Linked DNA regions of Homo sapiens: region 2 is linked to region 1. The links are contacts of gene promoters, found by promoter capture Hi-C in blood cells and fetal thymus (Javierre and others, 2016). All regions are on one chromosome and are shown on one strand. The core of a region is centred on a gene start or on the middle of the fragment in contact, and the rest is flanking DNA. Distances in the headings are between cores, read along the strand shown.

Region 1 (5,419 bases), core at 2,108-4,607:
TTTTTTTCAAAATAGCTCTATTAGTCTTTATGATTTTCTGTTCCTTACAGATATTTTCAAACTTATTTTTAATTTTTTGGAATAAAGTGAACCATAGTTATTGTAGTCTTTGTCACGTAACTCTGATACGTGAAGTCTTTGAGAGTTTGTTTTTGTTGTCTACTGGCTGTCATGGTCTATGTGTTTCCTTTTATGCCAAGTTATCTTTGACTATACGCTGACATATTTTTGAAAAATTATTGTACAAATGATTCTAGGCCCAATATGATAATACCTTCCAGCAGAGTCTTTTCATTTGCTGGGGTATTTTCAAATGCCTGAGGATACTACTTGTCCAAGGCCACTTTAATCCAAGATCAGGGCTTTAGGTTCCTTGGACTGCCCATATGATGAGTATCTAGGTTTACAAGACCACACAAGGGCTGGTTACTTATAGGTCACCATTAACCCAAAGGGGTAGCCACTCAGGGTCTCAGCTGAGAGTGACAAGAATGCTAATCAAATCCGCTACTTCCTTGGGCCTTGAGCTTTCACTTTTTTCCTTATGATGCCACCAAAACTGCAGCTCAATTTCATAACTCTCTTCCAGATTCAGTAGAAGCCATCAGGACAAAAGAGGATTCTAGTGCTGGGCTTTCCCCCCTGGGTTCTTGTCTTCTTCCGGATTTTAGCCTCAGTATCTCTCAGTTCTTTATGACAATTATTTCTTTCTACATTCAGCCAGTTTGTTTCATTGTCCTCACTGGAACAGCTAGTCCAAGTTACCTAGCTGGCCATTACCAGAAGGAGATGTGTGCTCTTCTTGCCCCCAGTCCCTCTCCCTCCCAGTTTTTCCTTCAGTGCGAAGGTGCCACTCTGATTGTATCATTCCCTTGCACAAATCCTTCAGAAGATTACTGTTGACTCTAAAATAAAATACAATTTTTTATTTTAGAAAATTAGGACCCAGATTCTTTCTCTTGCCTCATTCATTACACAAGAATTTATTGTACACTGAGTGTGTGTTGCTTACAAAGTCAGGTTCTGCCTAATCTCTCACCTCTTACCTATCTCACCTGTTGTCTTACCTCCAAACTTACTCTACCCTTTAGCCAAACTGGAATATTCACTGTCGTGTGCAGAGCTGGGTCAGAACACAGATGGGCTAACTTCCAGATGAGTGTTCTTTGTCCTACACCATTATCCCATATTCAGGTTTAAGCTTATTCAATCTAGATCTTTATGGATATTATAATAAATTAACTAGGCAAACGCTCAATAAGTACAAATTATAATGGCATTTTTGTATTTCTTGTATTTTGGCTATCCTTTTCTTGTGAGTCAGAAATTTCAATGAAGCATTACCTCTAGGGAGACCCGAAGTAGGGGAGGGCCTTCTGGGATGTAAGTTCTGGAAGAGAATTCATCGTTGCCGTCAACTTTTTGTCAATCTTCATAGTCACAAGGGTACCTAAGAACAAAATTTCAGGCTTCAGGCTTGTTTCCCCTAACAAATGAGCGACCAGACCAATTGCCTGTGGAATTTGATTCCTCAGTGCTGGGAACATCCCACATTCAAACAAATCTGCTCCCACCTGCTGGTGGTTGCTAGAACTTCCAGTCAAAGCTGACTTAGACTGAAAACGCACTCTTCTCGAAGTAAGCAGACCTGGAAATGTGGTTTTTAGTTTTGGCCTCTGCTACTGTGTGACCTTGGGCCAATCCCTTTTTCTTCTCTGGGCTTCAGTTTCCCTACATTACAACCGAGGTGGCTGGACAAAATGCCCCGGAATGGCTCTAACATTTTTGGCAAACAAGGATTTTCTCTACAAGGACGTCTGTGTGACCAGAGGTGATGGGACAGGACTGGTAGCAGTAGAGGTGGGTTTAATCTGCTCTCATATGTGATCCTGACAAATGGGTCCCATCATCCTTTTTTCTTACTGCAATGGCCAGGGAAAGAGGGGAGATGGGAAAGAAAGGTGTGAGGGTGTTCTGCTCATTAAAAGAAGGCAGGAAACTATGAGAGACATTTTTCATAAAAGTATGGTTCTAAAATGATTTTAAAGGGGGAGTGGTAAAAGAGTTAAACCCTCAGCTGTGCAAAACTGCTTGGCCTACCAGGTAAGTCATGCTTTGCTGGGCACCAGCAATCTCAACTCATTTCATCAAATACTGAGGGGAAAAAAAGGGGGAGATGTTGTGTTTCTCAGTGAATGTTCTAGGTAACCAAAAGTAAACCTGAAATCCGTTTTGATTTCAACTCTTCTCAATGGTGTGATGTGGGAGGTGGCATGCCGGTGAACATGGCAGCTCTGTTTGTTGATTACCCATTTGCCCTATGGGCTCTGGTGAGGCCACTTTCTAAGCTTTCTGAACTTGCTTTGTCATGGGATAGGAAGGACATAGGAAATTGGGTGGAGGCATTTCTTATCCTCCACGATTTTTCTGTCCCATAGGGGCAGAGTCTGAGGTAGTGGAAAGAATAAGAGCCCTCTAGTCAAGATGTCAGGCTTTTCCATATGATGGGGTCAGAACCCAGGAACATTGGCATACCCTGGTCTCCAGTGCCTAACTCCCTTGAACACCCCAAACACTGACCTTGGCCTTTTTTTCCCCTTCTATGGTGTCAGCCATGAACCTTCATTCTGCATCCCCTGGCTGATGAGACACAACCACATCTCAGAGAGACCCCAGTTGGTGAGCCCTTCCAGTTCCTTGAGTCTTTTTCCTGAGTACCCAAAGTTGGGGTGAAGAGCACTCTAGGAAATTTAAGTCTTAAGCAACTCTTGGGCTCCTGTAGCCCAATGTCCATCCTGAGGGAGGAGCAGTCCTGCTGTGGCCAGAGCCCTGTAACAAAACCCATTAGGATCCTCCTTGACCTTATCCAGAGACAAGGCACGCGGGGTTACTGGAGGCTCAAGGGTACGGAGTCACCAGCCGTTGGGTACCTCCTGACGCCCAAAATTGTCCAAGTCTTTCAGAATGCAGATTCAGCCATGGCGGTCAAATTACCACACTCCCTTCACCATCAAATACAACTCTCGGGCACAGGCCCTTTCTTCCAAGAAAAACACACATTTCGCATTTTGCAGAGAAGAGACAGGACCCAGTGCCCCTTGAGGCGGATTCCTGGCCCAGCCCCCAAGGAGCCAGCCCTCCTCCCCCTCCCCCAGCCCGGCCCCGCCCTGCCTGTGTCTGGAGATGGCCGGGGGATGACTGCAGAAGCCTGAAGGGGCGGGGGCCGGGCGGCGCGCAGGCTACGGGCGGAGGCAGGAGCGCGCGCCTTTTTGTGCGGCTCCTGGCAGCTGTCCGATTGGCTGGGCCTGCGATGCCGTCGGAGTGGGCGGAGCCAGCAGCGAGCTGGGATCTGTGCCCAGTCGCAGCCAGGAGCGGCCGCAGACGGAGCGCACCTCGCAGCTGCCGGGCGGGCCCTGGGGGGAGCTGCGTCCAGCAGAGCTGCTGGGTGGTTGCTCCTCCCGGGCTCTCATCTCCGGTATCCGGGCCGACCCCCGCACCCCCTACTTCCCTTGCCCTCGCTGCTCTCTCCTTAGAGGCGACTCTTTGGGGAAGGGCCAGCAATCCCGCCTTCCCCGGCCCCAGTAGTCACCCACTCTCCCACCCCACCTCTGTTCCTTTTCGCGGCCCCGTCTCCCGCGCCCTCAGGCGCCCAGAACGCCCCGGCCATGGGCATCCGAGGCATGCTGCGAGCCGCAGTGATCCTGCTGCTCATCAGGACCTGGCTCGCGGAGGGCAACTACCCCAGTCCCATCCCGAAATTCCACTTCGAGTTCTCCTCTGCTGTGCCCGAAGTCGTCCTGAACCTCTTCAACTGGTAAGCGGGCACCGCCAGGCTAGGCACGGCGGGGACGGGAATGGAGACGGGCAGACGACCTCTGGCCTCTTGGACGGAGCGGGCTGGGGGCGACTCGGGCTGGGGGGTACTCGGACCCGGGCTCGCTGAGCCCTGGCGCCCGGGCCCTGCCTGTTGGCCCCTAGAAGGGGTAAGGTGGGAGTGGGGTGTTGAAATGGAGCCCTGTGCTTCCGCCCACCTGTTACTGCGGAGCTTGACTGAGCCCTGCGTGTGCCTAAACCGCAGCCCGAGGGGTGGGGGCGGGGGTCGCCCTCGTCCCAGGATCTGTCCATCCATCCCCAAGGATTTAAGGTTCCCGGCAGCTTTCCCCAGCTTTGGCACCTGTGGGATTGGGGAGGAGGGTACAGGATGACGGGCAATTCACAAAACATAGACAGGAGAGACACCTGTTTGAGTCTACATTTTAGTCCATTTCCTGAGGCGCGCGCGCGTGCATGCATGTGTTGAGGGGATGAGGGACTCTTTCCAATGCGGCAGATAGAAATGATTAACTCAAACCCATCGGAGCCCAGACAGTGCGATCGTGTCTGAATAAACACGAACCGTGTGGTCTGGGATGGGTGTGCTTTTGTACTTAGTCGTGTGAAAATATTTGAAGACTCCGGTTTTTTTCTCTTTTTGATTTTAAGTTTGTTTGGGTGTGCGAGTATCTGAAGCCTTTACATGTAAATCACACAGAAATGTGTATTTGGGGTGGCCACAGATCCTGAGCGTTGGCACATGGGTAATGTGTGCTTGGAAACAGGTGGGAATGCATTGCTTTAATTTGGGAATAATTCATGTGCACATTTTGGGATGCTGCAAAATGAAATTTTTGATTAAAGATGATTAGGAATAATTTTTAACAATGTTTAAATGGCAAGCCAGAAATTAACATGTACTCATAAAGGGGGGGGGGGTGTTTGGCAAGGTTCCAGCAGACAGCCCTGCAGTGCCCTTAACCCAACATACCATACTGCGCCACTGAACATGCACACATGCGCGTGCGCACACACACACACACACACACACACAAACACACACATTTGCAGGGGCTGACGTTCCCTGGGCAATGCGTCAAAGATTTGAAGAGTCACAGTGATGCCGGGGCCTGTTCTGATTCGCAAGCCCTGTTGGGGAAGGAGCCCTGTTGAAGGTCTAGGTGAATTGGGTGAGCGTGTCAGAGATCTCTGGAAAAGCCAGCTCTCCACAGAGCTGGGCTGAGTCCACTTACCTATGCTCACCCAAGACACCTCCAGGGTGGAAGCACATGCTCAGCAAGAGATATACCTGCTCCCAGAATAGATGTCTTTCCGATGAGAGCTCTGAGCCCCAAGAATCTGAAATGGTTTGGTTGGATGAGGGTCGTAAATCTCAGCTACACCAGCAAGGCTCTCTCTGTGTGTCTTATGCCATATGCCAAGTCTGGAAAACAGAGTTGTGCAGAAACAAGGTTGACATAAAAGTGACTAAAAAATGCCCAGCCCTAGCCCAGGTAAGGGGAAATGAAACTTTGAGCTCATCTTACTAGGGCACTGAGAGCAAAAGATGACTTTTCCTGGGGCAATCAGGTGCCCCTGGCAGGAG
Region 2 (5,416 bases), core at 487-2,986, 1.5 Mb before region 1:
AGATTGTAATTCGCGCCGGATTCAGTTCACAGACGCGAAAGCCGCAGGATTGGGGTGGGGGCTTCATTTTCAAACAAGGAGACACATTTCCAGTTTAGGCTTTATAGCTAGAGACAGTGTGTGCAATCTTGGTTTTCAACAGTGTCTGTTTTTTTCGTTAAAGGTATCTGAATGTTGAAGTTCGTCGCGTAACAGGCCCCTACTACCTACCCCGCCTTGTCCGTCCCCCCACCCACCCCGGGGCAAGAGGGCTGCTGTGTCCAGACGATGGCGCTCCCGGCCAGTGCAACCCCTCTCCCCTACTGTGGCAAGAAGACTAGTCTGGAACAAGTTTCAAGGTGTTTACTGAGATTTTGAAAGGCTTCTCGACAGGAGCCGTAACTTTTAGTAGCCGGCAGAAATCCATTCCCGTGACCAAGGTTATTGAGGGAACGAGTGTCCGAATCACGCCCCTTTAGTTTTGCCCGAATATTCGAATTTTCCGTGGTCCCCGCGGAGCGAGATCCTGGGCGCACCGCAGGGGAACTGTGACGCACGGGGACAGAGATCCGCGGTGTGGAGGGCGAGGGGGGAGGCCTGAGAGGGATGGGGTCGAAACGAGAACCCCAGAAGGGCATGGGAAAGGAGAAAGACCGAGAGGAATCCTGACTGAGGCAGGGATCGCCGGTCAGCCAGAGGCTTCTTGGTTTAGCCGCGTGACACCTCCGCACCTTTCCCGCGGCTGCGGCGCAGCTCCTTCAGCCTTCCTGACTGCCCCGTGCCGCTCAGTAGAGAATGCCGAGCATCCCGAGAGGGAGAGGCGTCAGAGCCTCTCGTCCTGAGTTTCCTTGAGAAGCGGGGACCCAAGAGAAGAGCTTTATTGCCTGTTTTACTTTTTCCCAAAGCGTCCCTTGGCTTCCGCCGCCTGGCTGCCGGCAGCTGGAAAGGAGACGAGCTCCCGCTCCCGTTCGCCCCCAAACTGAGGACCGAGTGGCCACCAATGCCTTCCCTAGGTCCCAGGGTGCAGACCCGCTCCCCACTTCCAGAGTCGGGCGCAGGGTACATCTCTTTATGGAGAGTGCAAGACCTGGACCGGACTGAGCGGCTACTCGCAGCTGCCGCTAAGGGAGCCAAGAGGCTCCTGGCGAGAAAGGGAGCGGGGTTAAGTTCCCTAGGGATTAGGGACCCAGATTGGGGGTGGGAGCTCCCAGCAGTAGTCCCCTGTTCCCCGCGGGACACAGAAGGCTCTAGACAGGCAAGGGCATGGGGCGTGGGATGGACCTCACAAGGATACTTGCAGAGGCAAGCATCTAGCGTTCAAGGGGCCACCGGCTATCCCCTATACCCTGCTGGGGGCTGTGGACTGGCTTGGTCTAGCACTGGATCCTATGAAAGACTCTGTGCTCCGGCTCTGCAATCTACATCTCTTTGCCAGGTGTTTGCACTGGAGGAGAGAGGGAGAAGAACTTGCTAGAAACGAATGCACAGGGGCTGGTGGAGGGGGTGTGGGGTGGACTCCGAGCTAGTCATGATGCTTGCAAGGTACCTGGGAGATTGAGAGGCAGGGCAGGCTGGCTAGAGAGGAAGTACATACAAGGCAGTCGGAAGCAAGATGACACCTCAATGTGGATTTGTCCAATAAGAGGGGGTAGCCAAGGGGGGGGTATTCAGGGAGGTCTGATTGGTCGGGGGGAGGGATTTGGGGTGGGGCTAGCCGCCTCTTGAGGCTTTAAAAGCTCATCGGAGAGGGGCGGGATGCTGTCATTTGCTCTCTGACTCTCAGAGAGGGAGGCACGCTTTCCTGGAGCTCCTGGTGACAGAACAGGTGTTTGCTGTCTGGACCTGGCTGCTGATCCTGAGCCTGCTGGGAGATCTTAACGATCCCCAGGAGCAACATGGGGCCCACCCTAGCGGTTCCCACCCCCTATGGCTGTATTGGCTGTAAGCTACCCCAGCCAGAATACCCACCGGCTCTAATCATCTTTATGTTCTGCGCGATGGTTATCACCATCGTTGTAGACCTAATCGGCAACTCCATGGTCATTTTGGCTGTGACGAAGAACAAGAAGCTCCGGAATTCTGGTAAGCCACCCCTTCTTCTCCCTACCCAGTGTGCAGAGACTTGCAACCCCTAGGGCGTTAGTTTTTGAGCTCCCCGAATAGAGAATCTATGGACAGTGCCCTCATATTGAACATCCCTGCTCCCAAATTCCCCGCAAGCCTGGGGGTGGTAGTATTCTGTCCCGGCCCTCTAAACGTGGAGGTTCTCAAGGCCGAGAGAGCACAGAGAATTAGCTTTGGGCATCCAAGTACAAAGCGTTCCCGTGGTGCGCGGCAGCCCGAGGATCCCTGTCCCGTCGGGGCCTGATGCGGAGGGAGCCGGCACCCGAGCGGGAGAGTCAGGCGATTCGCCCGGGGACAGCAAGCCGAGCCGGACGCCGCAAGGGCGGCCGCGCTGAGGCAGCGCGGACCGAACTGACGCGGAGGGAGCAGCGGGGCTGCGACCTGCTCTGTGAAAGTTAAGTTCGCGGCGGCCGCGGCGGCCCTTACCAGAGCGCAACGCAGTGGCCTCTCCCTAGCCGGGCCAAGAGCCCGCTCGCCGCGGCCCTGGGGCTCCAGGACGGCTCCCGGGCAGATCCCGGGCGGCGGAGCACAGACCCCCGCGCCCGAGAATCGAGCAGGGAGGTCTGAGCCCGCCGGAGCCGAGCTCCGTCCGCCCGTCCCAGGGCGAACGGCAGAGAGAGGCAAGCGGCGGGTCGGGCACAGCAGGCGGTGGCAGCGACGGCGGCGGCAGCGGAGATCCCAAGGTCCGTAAGCGGGGAACTGGGGGGTCGCAGGGCGGGCCGGCCAAGAGGCTTGGGAGCTGGGCGTTGCTGGGGGTGGAGGGATAGAAGGCAGCAAAACCGAGTAGGGATTGGCGGGAGGGCGACGGGAGAGCTCAGAGGCGGCGATGGGGGACTCAGAGAGGCTGCAAAGGGCTGGGGTCTGGGAGCCGCAGGCGGGACTTCCCCCGCTGCTAGCCACTGCCGAGCGGGAGGAGGCCGGGGGCCGGGGGCCGGCGGCGAGCAGGGCAGGAGGGAAGCGTGGGAGGATGCCGGGCGCTGCGACCTGTGCTGGGGGTGGGGGCGGCAGACACTGCAGAGCAGCTAGTCCGGCTTACAGGTTGGGCGGGAGAGGGCTCTGGAAGGGAGGGGAAGGGGCAAAGGCGCCCAAACTCCGAGTTCAGGCCGGGGGAGGGAGGGGCGGCGCCTGGAATTTCCACCGCCAGATTCTCGATCGGCTGGGGCTAGGAGTGGGGACCGAAGGGGGTCTGAGAGGGTGGGGAGACCAGCTGGATTCTCCCGGGCAGGGCGTGGGGGAGAGGTGGCGGCCGGGGTCTGGGGGATTACTTTGCTTGGGCAAGGAGTCACGAACACTGAACAAGTTTAAAAACGCACTGACTGGCACACAGTCATTAAAAGTTTTCTTACAAAGTCTGGTGGGTGTCTCCGATTTCTCCTTCGTCTCCTGGAATCGTGGGGCCATACACTAGGTCTTCACCTTCACCCCCGCGGTGCGGTCCCGAGGTGCAAACCCACGGAATCCTGGGGGCGACCTGCGAAGCCCATTTTATTCCCTTTAGATTTCTTTTCTTTCTTTTTCTCCTTCTCCTTCCTTCCTTCTATAATTCAAATAAAGGCTTTTATGGTTGTTGTGGTTTTGTTTTTAAGGCTTTGCCCCTTCTCTTTTCGGCTGTATTTCCCTGAATTCATTACTCTGCCGGAAAACCATAGAAAGAACCTCTTCGGTAGAAAGTGCTGAGGCCGAGTGCTGACAGCGCTGGAGGAAGGAGGAAGAAGGAGCCATACCTTTGCCCTTTTCAAAAGCGCTCATTTTCTCCTAGTCCAAGATGAAGTGCAATATTTTGCCAAACCAATGCTAATTAGCAACGAGGTGTCTCCAAAGAAAGAGGGCTCTGCGCCTGCACCTGGCCTCTTCCTTCTCTTTTTTGTGAAAGGTTTTACAAAAAAGTTCCCACCTCAGCCCTACAAGACCGGAGTGGGGGTGACCCTTCTTCTCTATCCTGTTTAACCTGAAGGCTCCAGTAAAGTTCAGTGCCCGGCGCTGGGAGCTCTGTGCAGGGCGCTGAATGTGCCAGTGCGCGGCTCTGCGCGTGGACGTGGACGCGGCATGTAACTGAAACAGGCACTTCTGCTAATCCTTGCAGGATTTTTTCTCCTCCCCCCCACCCCCGCCCACCTCGCGCCACCCTTCCCGCCCGCCCTCTCACTACTTCTTTGGTCTCAGACTAAATTTTACAGGGCTTCCCTGCTTCCCCTCAGTTTTCACTCTTAGGTTACCTCGGAACGGTAAGTATTTGACTTGGCAAGGTTTTAGGTTACTGCTTGATCCCATCGGAAAAGACTGTTTAAGAAGATGGCCTCTAATGCCTTTTCTCAGAATCTTCTCTCTAGTAATGTGTTTATTATAAATGCAATGCTAGGCTATAGGAGGGAGATGGCTAATTTATCTTTTTCTAATTATTTAATTATTTTTAATTTTTTTAGTTTGAGGCTTCCTGACATCCCTCCAGTGTCTCTCCTTGCCCCCCACTCTCCAGCCTCCTTCCTAAAAACAAGTCCCTCTAGCTCACCTCTACTCCCCTCCTCCTTCTCCCTCCCCCTCACCTCCAGTGAAGGAAACGTTTGCATTTTGTTTTTCTCTAAGATGGTGGCAGCATGACCCTGTCTCATTGTGAAGGCTCCTGGCAGGGATTTTGTGCTCACTGCTGTCTGTCTTATGTTCGCTTCTTTCTCAGAGCATTTCTTTAAAAGAATTCTGGAATTATAAAAGGTCATAATCCAGCTGGCCTTCCCCTGCACCTTAAATGTGTAGATTTCTGTACTTAAACCACTTATTCTTCTCTGTCTTTCCCCTTTCTCCCTCCCTCGATATGTTTTTCAGGCAACATCTTCGTGGTCAGTCTCTCTGTGGCCGATATGCTGGTGGCCATCTACCCATACCCTTTGATGCTGCATGCCATGTCCATTGGGGGCTGGGATCTGAGCCAGTTACAGTGCCAGATGGTCGGGTTCATCACAGGGCTGAGTGTGGTCGGCTCCATCTTCAACATCGTGGCAATCGCTATCAACCGTTACTGCTACATCTGCCACAGCCTCCAGTACGAACGGATCTTCAGTGTGCGCAATACCTGCATCTACCTGGTCATCACCTGGATCATGACCGTCCTGGCTGTCCTGCCCAACATGTACATTGGCACCATCGAGTACGATCCTCGCACCTACACCTGCATCTTCAACTATCTGAACAACCCTGTCTTCACTGTTACCATCGTCTGCATCCACTTCGTCCTCCCTCTCCTCATCGTGGGTTTCTGCTACGTGAGGATCTGGACCAAAGTGCTGGCGGCCCGTGACCCTGCAGGGCAGAATCCTGA

Evidence for each region. The method cuts DNA at HindIII sites, captures the fragments that hold promoters and counts their contacts. A CHiCAGO score of 5 or more calls a contact.
Region 2: a contact is called between the fragment with the promoter of GPR50 here and the fragment with the promoter of GABRQ in region 1, in 2 of 17 cell types (M2 macrophages and non-activated CD4 T cells). The highest score is 7.1, in M2 macrophages.

The regions. Positions count from the first base shown.
Region 1 is chrX:152,634,538-152,639,956 of GRCh38, forward strand. It overlaps GABRQ (gamma-aminobutyric acid type A receptor subunit theta), which reads left to right and starts at 3,358. Exons shown (of 9, transcript NM_018558.4): 1 at 3,358-3,814. The coding sequence starts at 3,666. MAGEA3-DT (MAGEA3 divergent transcript) reads right to left here. Exons shown (of 5, transcript XR_938525.3): 3 at 5,067-5,257; 4 at 1,345-1,450. The HindIII fragment of the contact is 4,664 bases long and covers 2,347-5,419 here.
Region 2 is chrX:151,174,848-151,180,263 of GRCh38, forward strand. GPR50 (G protein-coupled receptor 50) reads left to right here and starts at 1,737. Exons shown (of 2, transcript NM_004224.3): 1 at 1,737-2,061; 2 at 4,924-5,416. The coding sequence starts at 1,875. GPR50-AS1 (GPR50 antisense RNA 1) reads right to left here and starts at 2,989. Exons shown (of 3, transcript NR_135300.1): 1 at 2,530-2,989; 2 at 1,948-2,028; 3 at 351-1,423. RefSeq lists enhancers at 1-401, 402-1,370. The HindIII fragment of the contact is 16,411 bases long and covers 1-5,416 here.